Regions from separate parts of the Homo sapiens genome. Here region 2 is linked to region 1. Evidence: promoter capture Hi-C in 16 types of primary human blood cells and fetal thymus (Javierre and others, 2016). All regions are on one chromosome and are shown on one strand. The core of a region is centred on a gene start or on the middle of the fragment in contact, and the rest is flanking DNA. Distances in the headings are between cores, read along the strand shown.

What was found. The method cuts DNA at HindIII sites, captures the fragments that hold promoters and counts their contacts. A CHiCAGO score of 5 or more calls a contact.
Region 2: a contact is called between the fragment with the promoter of ZFP28 here and the fragment with the promoter of ZNF585A in region 1, in 6 of 17 cell types (total CD4 T cells, non-activated CD4 T cells, naive CD4 T cells and 3 more). The highest score is 17.1, in total CD4 T cells.

Annotation. Positions count from the first base shown.
Region 1 is chr19:37,169,939-37,175,073 of GRCh38, forward strand. It overlaps ZNF585A (zinc finger protein 585A), which reads right to left and starts at 2,757. Exons shown (of 5, transcript NM_001288800.2): 1 at 2,689-2,757; 2 at 1-116. RefSeq lists enhancers at 2,658-2,847, 2,689-2,983. The HindIII fragment of the contact is 2,114 bases long and covers 1,619-3,732 here.
Region 2 is chr19:56,535,572-56,541,044 of GRCh38, forward strand. It overlaps ZFP28 (ZFP28 zinc finger protein), which reads left to right and starts at 3,377. Exons shown (of 8, transcript NM_020828.2): 1 at 3,377-3,655; 2 at 4,054-4,145. The coding sequence starts at 3,448. It overlaps ZFP28-DT (ZFP28 divergent transcript), which reads right to left and starts at 3,163. Exons shown (of 3, transcript NR_183967.1): 1 at 2,854-3,163; 2 at 2,080-2,166; 3 at 585-761. The HindIII fragment of the contact is 11,931 bases long and covers 1-5,473 here.

The DNA of each region.
Region 1 (5,135 bases), core at 1,507-4,006:
GTAGGGTGTCTGAAGCTTGGCAGTCATCTGTGAACTCAAGCAGAGCTGCTCTGAAGAGATGGGCTGGAGTCTAGAGGAAAATCTGGCCCAGGGGCTCCCCAGAGACACCCAGAAACCTGGAAAGACAATGTTCCCATAGTCAGTCATTTCACATTCAACACATAAGCACTTCCTGGATATATCAAGGTGCAGGTCCCTGAGCTAGAAACCAAAGCAGTGGTTCTCAAATGGGTATGCATTCAAGTTACCTGGAGGACCTGTTAAATGAAACACAGTTAAAAATTCTCAGCCTACTCCACAGTTTCTGATTCAGTAGGTCTAAAGTAGAACCCAAAAAGTTTCGTTTCTAACTGGTGCCCAGGAAACGCTGATGCTGTCAGTACAGGGACCACACTTTGAGAACCAGCGCTGAGGAGAACATAAAATTTAACAAAATCTGTGATAGGTATTAGTTACGGTGAAATATGGGAAAAGTCATGAGAGATGGAGTAATGTTACTGCAGATTTGAACTGCAGCTCTGACACTTTTCACCTATGAGAACAGAAGTTTCTTCACTTTCTTTTGAGACGGAGTCTCGCTCTGTCGCCAGGCTGGAGTGCAGTGGTGCGATCTCGGCTCACTGCAAGCTCTGCCTCCCAGGTTCAAGCAATTCTCCTGCCTCAGCCTCCCAAGTAGCTGGGATTACAGGCATGCGCCACCATGTCCAGCTAATTTTTGGTAAAGACGAGGTTTCACCATGTTGGCCAGGATGGTCTGGATCTCCTGACCTCCTGATCCGCTCGCCTCTGCCTCCCAAAGTGCTGGGATTACAGGCGTGAGCCACTGCGCCCAGCCATTTCTTCACTTTTAATTTCAGAAATGAGGATGAAAATGCTTATCTCAAAGTTACAAAAATTAAATGAGATAATACTTGTAAAGTACTCAACACCTCCCAGGCACACAAAAATCATACAATACATATCAGCGATTACCATGCATTATCAGATATTAAAACAATATAAAAACAATGTAATAAAAACAAGTAAAACAATAAATATACCAGACAATATTGATCTATATATGTGATAAAAGTGGTATTCAAATGAGTGTGCATAAGACATTCATTGCATAAATGGCAGTGATATAATGCAGTGATATAACTGGCTGGCCACCTGGAAAAAAACAAACTAGATCTCCATCACACACTATTCAGTAGGCAAATGCCAGCAGGACTGATCACTTAATTATGTGTATTTGTTAAATCACAAAGACTATTAAAATAAATTTTAGAAGTATACATGTGTATAACACTGTGGTGGGCTGGGAGGGATCTTATTACACGTGAGAGGAAACACAGACTCTGTAACAGAAAAATCAGATACTTTTGATTAGATGATATTTCCTAACTTTATGTTAAAATATACCACAAAAAAAAGTAGGACAAAAGATATGAAAATTCACAGAAAAGGAAACAAATGGCAATTAACCAAATAAGATGCCAACTTTAGTAACTGGAAAATGCATTGGAGCAATTAGATATAATTTTCCCTCAAAATTTTAAAAACTTTTAAAATGCAACAATATCCACTGCTGGAAAAGCATCTGGGAAAATGAGTTATTTTATAAATTGTTGGTATAAGCTTGAATTGTTATATTTTGAGCTACTTAGTCATATCTATAAAGTATTAAAAATGCACATATGCCGGGCGCAGTGGCTCACGCCTGTAATCCCAGCACTCTGGGAGGCGGAGGCAGGTAGATCACCTGAGGTCAGGAGTTTGAGACCAGCCTGGCCAACATGGTGAATCCCCGTCTCTACTAAAAAATACAAAAAATTAGCTGGGCGTGGTGGCGGGTGCCTCTAATCCCAGCTACTCTGGAGGCTGAGGCAGGAGAATCCGTTGAACCCACTAGGCAGAGGTTGCAGTGAGCTGAGATCGCGCCACTGCACTCCAACTTGGGTGACAGAGCGAGACTCCATCTCAAAAAAAAAAAAAGTGCACATAGTTATTCCTAATAATTTCACATATATAAAGCAGAAAAAGAAGGACAAATGGACAAATAACCTTTCCAGAGTTGAGTACTTTACCTTCCTCTGTAATTAAGCAGACAAAATAATCTGTGAGGAGACAGATATATTTTTTGAATATATGCTTAATTAATATCTATAACAATACAATTAGAGAACATAGTACACTGTTTCTATGTAATAGATGTGACATTCATGAAAACTGACCACGAACTAGGTCATAAAGCAATTTTTCAATTTGACCATTAAACAGACATTACTTTAAAAAGGAACTTCTAAATAACTCATGGATCAAAGAAAAAACCACTTAGATTTGAACAATTTTTAATACAAAGATTCACCAAAACTTGAGAATTTTTATATTAAAGAAGACTGAAAATTAAAAAGCTGAACTTTCAACTCAGGTTAGAAAGCAAGCTGATTACAGTCCTCACCGATCACCATAACTGACCCTACAGGCTCTGTCACTGACCACAGACTCCCATCACTGACCCCCAAACCTCAATCACTCATCCCAAAGAGCTCCATCAATGACCTGAGAAATCCGTCACAATCAACAACGGACGCCACAGAACCCCATCACCGAAGCCTGAAACCGCAATCACTAACTCCACAGGCAACCTCGACACCCCCTATTACTGGCTCCACAGAAACCCCAATCGTGATCAACCAAAATCACCTCAAAGATTTATCGGTATTGGAATATGAAAATACTCCTGACACCAGCGGCAAAAAAGCCTTGGAAGACCACTTCCACTTCCGGTCCGACTTCTAGCACCTCCCCTTTGTAGGCTGTTGATATGGCGCATGCTCTGAATAAACTTGGAAGCCAGTTTCCTCGAACAGTCAACAGGGCGCAGACACAGCGCACAGGTTCCGTAATGTGGCGCTGTCCGGCAGAGAACATGGCCGCGCCCTTATGGTGTTTATTCGCGTGGGCCGCCATTTTGAAAGCATATCCATTCCGTAGAGCAGAGGAATTGGCCGCTGGCAGGGTTTCCTAGAGCGAGGCAGGTATAGTTACATAGGATGCTGGAGTGTGACCCTTGTCTGACTAGGCTTCTATTTCGGAGGAGAAAGTTACTGGAAATGTGGGTCTGGTGCTGTATGTTATATTTAGAAAAGCTAAGTTACCTTTCTGAATACAGGACACTGAGGATAATAATTACCAGGGAATAGAGGAGCCAGGGAAAAATCACCAAGTGAAGGGGATCCTGGGAGAAACCACAGGCAGATGATAGGAGGAATCAGGATAGTACAGTCCATTTTTTACAGACGCCATTCAGGGAAAAGGTGGAAAGGTCACTAGGGGAGTCATCTCTTGAGTGAAACCACCCTGAAAGTCTGAGAGACATCTGAATGAGTAGTAGGCTGCAGGAAGAGTGGTACAACTTTTAATGGGAGAAACCGCCTTGGGAAATAGGGTAGAAGTCCAATAGTATTAATACAATCCTCTCCTGGGAGATACCACCAGAGGAGGGAGGAGAAGTCCGGGCGTCCCCTTCTGAAGGGCTGGGTCGGGTGGGAAGGTGAATAGAGATTTGAATCACCCATTACCCTCCACACTAAATACCTCAAGTGCAACTATAGTAGGCAGCAATAATAACAACACTAATAGTCTTTAGTATGGCCAACGTGTTACTAAAAGCACCTAAAGAAGACTGTTTTTATTTACCTTGAAGTTAAAATATAATTAATAACAATCGCCTTACCATGTCAATGAAGCTTTAAGTGCAGTCTCTGACCCTTAGCTTCTCCTCTGTGGAAATTCTGAAACCTCCTTACTCCCCTTTTTGGAGGGTGTGGATGAGGAGTTGTAAAGATACAATTCCTTTCACTTGGTGAACTCCTAAACATGATTCACAGCTCAGCTTCTGACAGGAAGTTCTACCTGAACAGTGGTGGGAAATTACTACCCAATGTGTTCAGTTCCAGCAGGTGGGAAACTTGTTTTCAGGGAATTGAACCTACACTCTGATGTGGGCATGCTGGATGCCTTCAGGCCAGTTATGTCTGTCTCTGGGACTCGGCTTAAAAATATGTTTAGAGAATTAGACTCTGCTGATCTCAGGTTTTCTTTCTTCTCCGAAAGGACGGTCTAAGGAAACATCTGTGGAAGTCCGTTAGTAAACACACAATTTCTACCAAGGGGCTAAGAATTACTGTTGATTTTGTCAGTAATGCAGCTCTGTTAAAAAGAAGATGACTTAACTTTTAGGGATTCGTGTGGAAATATTTATGGGTGGAATAATATTAGCTTTAAAAACTCCACTGAGAAAAAAAAAACTCCACTGAGAAGGGGTATATGGTATTGCAAAAGAAAATGTTGATAAATGTTAAAGCAGAGTGATAAGTAGACAGAACTCATTATAATGTTCTCTTCCATAGTATTTGTGTGAAATTTTCATAGTAAATTTCTAATTTAAAAAGAAAGGAATTAAAAACATTTACAAGGAAACATCAAGAAGACAGCAGGTGTGGTCATAGTGTTAGGGAAGATGAAACCTAGGAGACCCAGAGTGACACCATTTTAAGTTCAGCTCCATCTTGACACTAGCAAGGCACATTCATTGCAAGTCACAACTCATGGTCCTAATGTGTTTACAGCGAAGGAAGCAGCCCTGTAATGCCTGCAAAGACAAACTCCTAGAACAACAGAAAGTCCAGATGTCCAATACCCATAACAATAAATGCTTTCAAGATCATTATAGTTATACTTTGATGTACTTACTAAAATGTCAGGGATAGTTTTCTTTAAATCAATAGAATAATAAATTTTGTCATAATGTCAGGCCACCCACGCATAGGCACAGCTTACTTTAGTCTTTACATAGACAAGACCCCTATATAAGAAAAGCTTAACAGATGTTCCTCCACTTGCTTTCTGAGGACACCCTACTCTGTTGTGGAGTAGCTTTCAATAAACTATCTCTTCTCACTGCACTCTACAACCCACCTGGAATTCTTTCCTGCATGAGATCAAGAACCCTCTCTTGGAGTCTGGATTGAGACCCTTTTATTTCCATAACAATAGTATTATACAAACACAGGCATACCTCAGCGATATTTAGGGTTTGGTTCTAGACCACTACAATAAAGCGAGTCACACAATTTGTTTGGTTTCCT
Region 2 (5,473 bases), core at 2,127-4,626, about 19 Mb after region 1:
CATTGGACTAAGTATTATTTCCCAAATCAAATGTCATTATGTTGTACATTCTGTTTGTTAAACATCTGACACCTAAGCATATGACATCCTTTCTTTGTGCTATAAATTTTATTTTTGCCTATTGTGAGTATATATTACTCTTTATACTGAATTTTTAAAAAAATTAATAAAACAATTTATAAATATGGCAAATGTGAAGATTGGCAGTAGTTCATAAGTTGTATCAGCTTAATCTAAATGATTCAGCCGGGAGATTATTCATCTTTCTTGTTGGTTTCTGTTTTTCAAAAAGCTATAGTTTTGGGTTTATAAAAAAAGCACAGTGTAACTCCTGGTGGTTAAGATGAGATATTTTGTCAACTTCCTGCTGCAGGAGAACTTAATAATGAAATTATTCTTATAGCTCTCTAAAAATTTGGATATATTGAAATATTTTTCTTCATAATTCTTTAGTGTGCTTCTGTTGCTTCTCTGCTAAATATGAACAAGGACGCATATAGCCCCATATAATAGGAAAATAGGATATAGCAGTCATTTGAGGATAAGTGACTGCTACAATAAGATAAAAAAGGTATTGTCAACTCTGTCAATAAAGAAGATAGATTTTATTGCCTTCTCAAGTAACAGCTTCCCATGTAGGTAGGTAGCAGGTCAAGGCAAGAAGACAGCTTTGCTCCATGATGTCATCAAAGGACCTGGTTCCTTCTATGCCATTTCTCCATCAACTCAGGATGCTGTCTTTATCCACATAGGTGATGCCTCTACATTCCAGAACATGAAAGTATTCTGACATATCTTCCTTGGACATGACATATTTTTCTATGTATTGCTGGACTTTGTTTATTGTCACTTTAGGTAGGATTTTAATGTGTATGTTGTCCCTGAAGATTGGAATTCTTTCCCTACTTAAATTCTTTCCCTACTGTCCTTGTCCAGTTTTGGTATCAAGGGTGTCTAGTTTTAAATTCTCCAGTATAGTTTTATAGGATAAGGATTATTTATTGCTTTGGTATTCATGGAAAAGCCTGAGAACTTATTTAATGATTTTCCATTTCTTCTTGAGTCAGTTTTGGTACTTATAATTTTCTCTATGGTAAGCCCCTGCATATGTTTTAAATATATTGAGATAAGGTGATCACAGTATTTGCAAAATTCTAAAAATTTCTGTGATTATGTCCACTTTTTCATTTCTAATACCATTTCTTTGATTGTTTATTTCTCTTTTTTTCTGCTAAGCCATCTTTAGCATAACTTTCATCCTCATGATGCCAAGGTGGCTGTTTGCAGCGGACCCTATCCTTGTTGGACTGAACAAAGGATGACAAACATGGGAATAAAGACAAAGACAAAAGAGTATATTTGGAAGAAGAGGTCTGGGGGCTCCTTGCTTCCAGTGAACACAGGCCCTGAGCCTTTACAGCCCTTCGTATTTATTAGAGTGAATAGGGAGAAGGGGGGTGGTTGTCGGTCAGTAGCTTGATTTACAGCAGGCTTGCAAGACTGCATTCGTCAACCAATAGGCTCTAGATGTCCCATTAGATAACCTCAAGGAGCATGACACCAGGGAGTGATTGCCTTCAGCAAACCTTCTGGTGGCTGGAGCAGAAGCGACTTTGCCCACATTCTGCATTCATGATAAACAGTTTGCTGTTTGATCATATAGCCTCCAGTGGAATGTTGAGTTGGCCACGATCCCTTTGCCAGCTCTCTACAGCTGTTCTACCTGTTGACATCCTGTGTCATACCCAAGCAGGAAGAAGGTTGTGTGAGATGACAAAAGGCCAGAGTTACATGCCAGCTGTGTCTCTTTCCACACATCCACCAAACCCCCAGCAAATGTGTACTTAAAATTCATTGGTTACAGAGCCACTACTCCTTACAAGGAGACTGGGGAGGTGAGTATTATAAGCTGGGCAGATGGCCACTTGAAGAGCATCAATGTTCTGCTGTGGAAGGAGTGCAAAATAGACACCAGAGAGACCATTAGCAGTGTCTGCCACAGCTATTACATGGCTAGGTCCACCTGACTGAAACTAAGCCTTTTCTATGAGACTGAAGTGCTTTGAGAGAAATGCTGACCTTGTCCTTTCTGCAGCTTGCGGCTTTCAGTCACCCTTGGATTCAGAGATAGAAGTCATCTTAATTCCATCACTGAGGCCAGGAGACCTGAAAGAAATCAATTCAAGAGTAAGGAGACCAGGCGTGCAGTGTGACTGGGCGTGCAGAGGTCAGTGCATCTGTGATGACTGGTGTAACAGCATCACTGCCTGTGAGCCAGCAAGGCCCTTGGCTCCCAGGATGAAGCTCTCCAGTTCTGATAAGGCCCCTGGGGGAGAGACCGGTCCTAAACATGTTCAAGAATAAATCCATCAGCTAACTTCAGACCGTGATTCACACAGGAAGGGAACTTTAAGAGGTCGCCAGGGCTGGTATTTTTGAGACGTTAGGCAGCCCTCTCTGAGGCGATGACAAGTGAATGGCATAAAGGAGCCAGCCCAGACGAAAATTTGGGGTTAGACTATTTCGACCCAGGACGTGCAAATACATAGGTTACAAAATGGAAAATGGTATTTTGGAGGATGGGAGGCCCGTGTAGCCAGAGATAATGGGAGAAGGTGAGGGGGCACCCAAAACAATCCCACAAGCTCTCTACATCCCCCTTCCTAGCCCACACACATCACCCATCAGAGTGATCCTCCGGACTCCGGAGGCCCCCAAGATTGCCTTTCCCTTCCCGGTCGGCAGTGACGCTCCCGCAAGGAGCTGACGCCCAGGCCCTTAGCACCTGTCACAGCCAAGCACCCTTTTACTCCGGCCCTGCGGTCCCACCCCTCGCCGCAAGCCCCGCCTCACCCGGTCTGCCGCTGCGCCTGCGCGACTCCCAGAAGCCTTTGGGGGGTGGGTGTGTAGTCAGAGCGGCCTCTGCTTCCGGCCACACCCAGGCCCAGCGTTGGCCACCACTTATGCGGCGGCTGCGGTCCAGGGACAAGTGAGAGCGACCCGCAGAGGGCAGGACGGACGGGCGTTGCATAGGCCCGGGGCCAAACCGTATCTTGCAACCTGAGCTCCGAGGGCCGCCGCATCCGTCCCTGCTTGGGACTACGCTTCCCAGCGGGCATTGCGCCGAGGCCACGCCCGGTTCCGGCGGCGCTGCCTGCGCACTGGAAGTGGGAAGCGCCGGGCTTCTCTAGGCTGAGGGGCGGGGCGGGGCGGGGCGGGGCGGGGCGGGGCGGGGCGGGGCGGGGCGGGGCGGGGCGGGGCAGCGGGGAGGGGTGGGGAGGGGCGGGGCGCGGCCGGGGGCGGGGCGGCTCCGCGGCGCGGCCCAGTGGATGCCGGGCCATGGGGGAGCGCGCGCGGGGCTGTTCGCTGGGCGTGGCGGGCGGGTGTGGCCAGGGGTGTGGGTCTGTGAGGGACCGGTCGGAAGGGCGTCGCGCGGCCTCGGGTGACATGCGGGGGGCGGCGAGCGCGAGTGTCCGCGAGCCGACGCCGCTCCCGGGTAGAGGCGCCCCCCGCACAAAGCCCCGGGCGGGCCGAGGCCCGACTGTAGGGACTCCAGCCACCTTGGCCCTCCCTGCCCGGGGAAGGCCGCGCTCAAGGAATGGCCTCGCATCCAAAGGCCAGCGAGGAGCGGCCCCTACGGGGCCTGGGCACAGAGGTGAGAGTGACAGGTGTTTGGGGCCGAGCGGACAGGGACGAATTCATCTCGGGATGAGATCTGGGAGGGGGTTGGGCTCTCGGGGACCAGTTGCTGGAGAACTGTGCCCCTGGTCTTTGAAGCTGGTGGAGTGGGAGAATCTGAAGATTTGGAAGCTCAACTGATTCAGAGCAGCAAGCCGCGGTAAAAGGGTGTTGACTTTCCCAGGGTGACTCTAACTAGACGCTTTTCCTGTTTTCGTGCTCCCAGGGAGGAAAAAAACCTATCTCCACGTTGTGGCAGTCCCTAGGCAGGGTAATGATCTGATCCCACCTTTTCATGCAGGAAGGGACGTTTCTAGGCTGGTGATTTGGGACTGTGGTGTAGACCTGGTCTCTAGCTACTCCTTTCTCTTTCAGCTCTGCCTTCCAGGGACACTGCTCTTCCCCAGGAGAGAAACAAGAAGCTGGAGGCTGTGGGGACAGGAATTGAACCTAAAGCCATGTCCCAGGTGAGTTGGCATTTCATCTCTTGTCTCTGAAATGCAGTCTTGCTTTTCGGGACTTAATGTTGCTTATTTTCTTGAAAGTTTTCAGTTTAAGAGACCTGTTTGGGCGCGGGTTTCTATTTCTTCACGTTCTAGTGAAGTGATGGGCTACGGGGAAAAGTTTAAACTGCCCGGGGCCTCGATGCCTGCTTCTTCTTCATCCCAATCAGCCTTCATTCTTGATTGATGAAATGATTCAGCCTCTCCCTTGTACCGCTTTTCTCAGAGGGACTCTGATGGAGGAATTGTGCCCCTTGAGGAACACGGCAGACTCTTCTGCTATACATGGTTTGTTTGGTGACCACTTTGTGCCAGCCACTGAGCAAACCAATAGCTAAGCCCTAGTCCCTGCTCTGGAGCTCACAGCCTGTTGACCCAATGTCAAGGAAACAAGCAAGATTCTAGAATGTGATCATCCTTGGGCCAAGTATTATGAGCGAGGACTACAAGGCGCTCCTGGCTTCCAGCCTCCTGTAGCGGAAGGGTAGGCCTATTTACCAAGGAGGTGATTTTTGAGCCTTGCCTTGAAGGGAGAGAAGATGTTTGGGAGGCACAGTAAAGAAAGACAACATTTTAGGGAGAGGAGGCGCAATATGAAAGGCTTTTCCACTTGATTTTGTGGCTTTAAAACATGCCAGTAAATAGTTGTGTTTGTTTCGGTTGGCTTCTCCTATAAATATCATAGCTAGCTCATTAATAGATGAACCATTTCACTTCCACTGAGGCCTCAAAAAATATATGTACAGATGAACCAGCTTCCAGTTGTCCTACCCAAACTGCTCTTGAGTGGGTTACTGTGATCTTCACATTACCAGATGCAGTGCTCAATTCTTAGTCTTTTTTGACTATCATTGGTATTTGAAATAGCTCAGAGGCTGGCAAACTTGTGCTGGATGAGGCCACAGCAGAAAATATGTTAGGCTTTGAAAGTCCTGCTGCATCTACTCCTTTCTGCTCTTATAGAGCTAAAGTAGCCAAAGACAATATGTAAATGAATGGATGGGCTGTGTTCCAGTAAAACTTCAGTTACAAAACAGGTGGCTACCTATCCCTCAAATAGCTCATCCCTGTCCTTCAATAGGCCCCCTTTTTTCCCTTGGCTACTGGGATCTCACACTCATCTGACTTTCATCTTCCTGACTGCTCAGTTTTTGCCACAGTTCTTACCTCCGTGACTTGAACAGAGTGTGCCTCAGCACTCTGCTCATGGCCCTTTCTTTTTTTGTCTGCATGCTGTCTCCTGGGGATAGTAGCCTGTTCCTTGTCTGTACAACCTACCCACATGGTGGCTC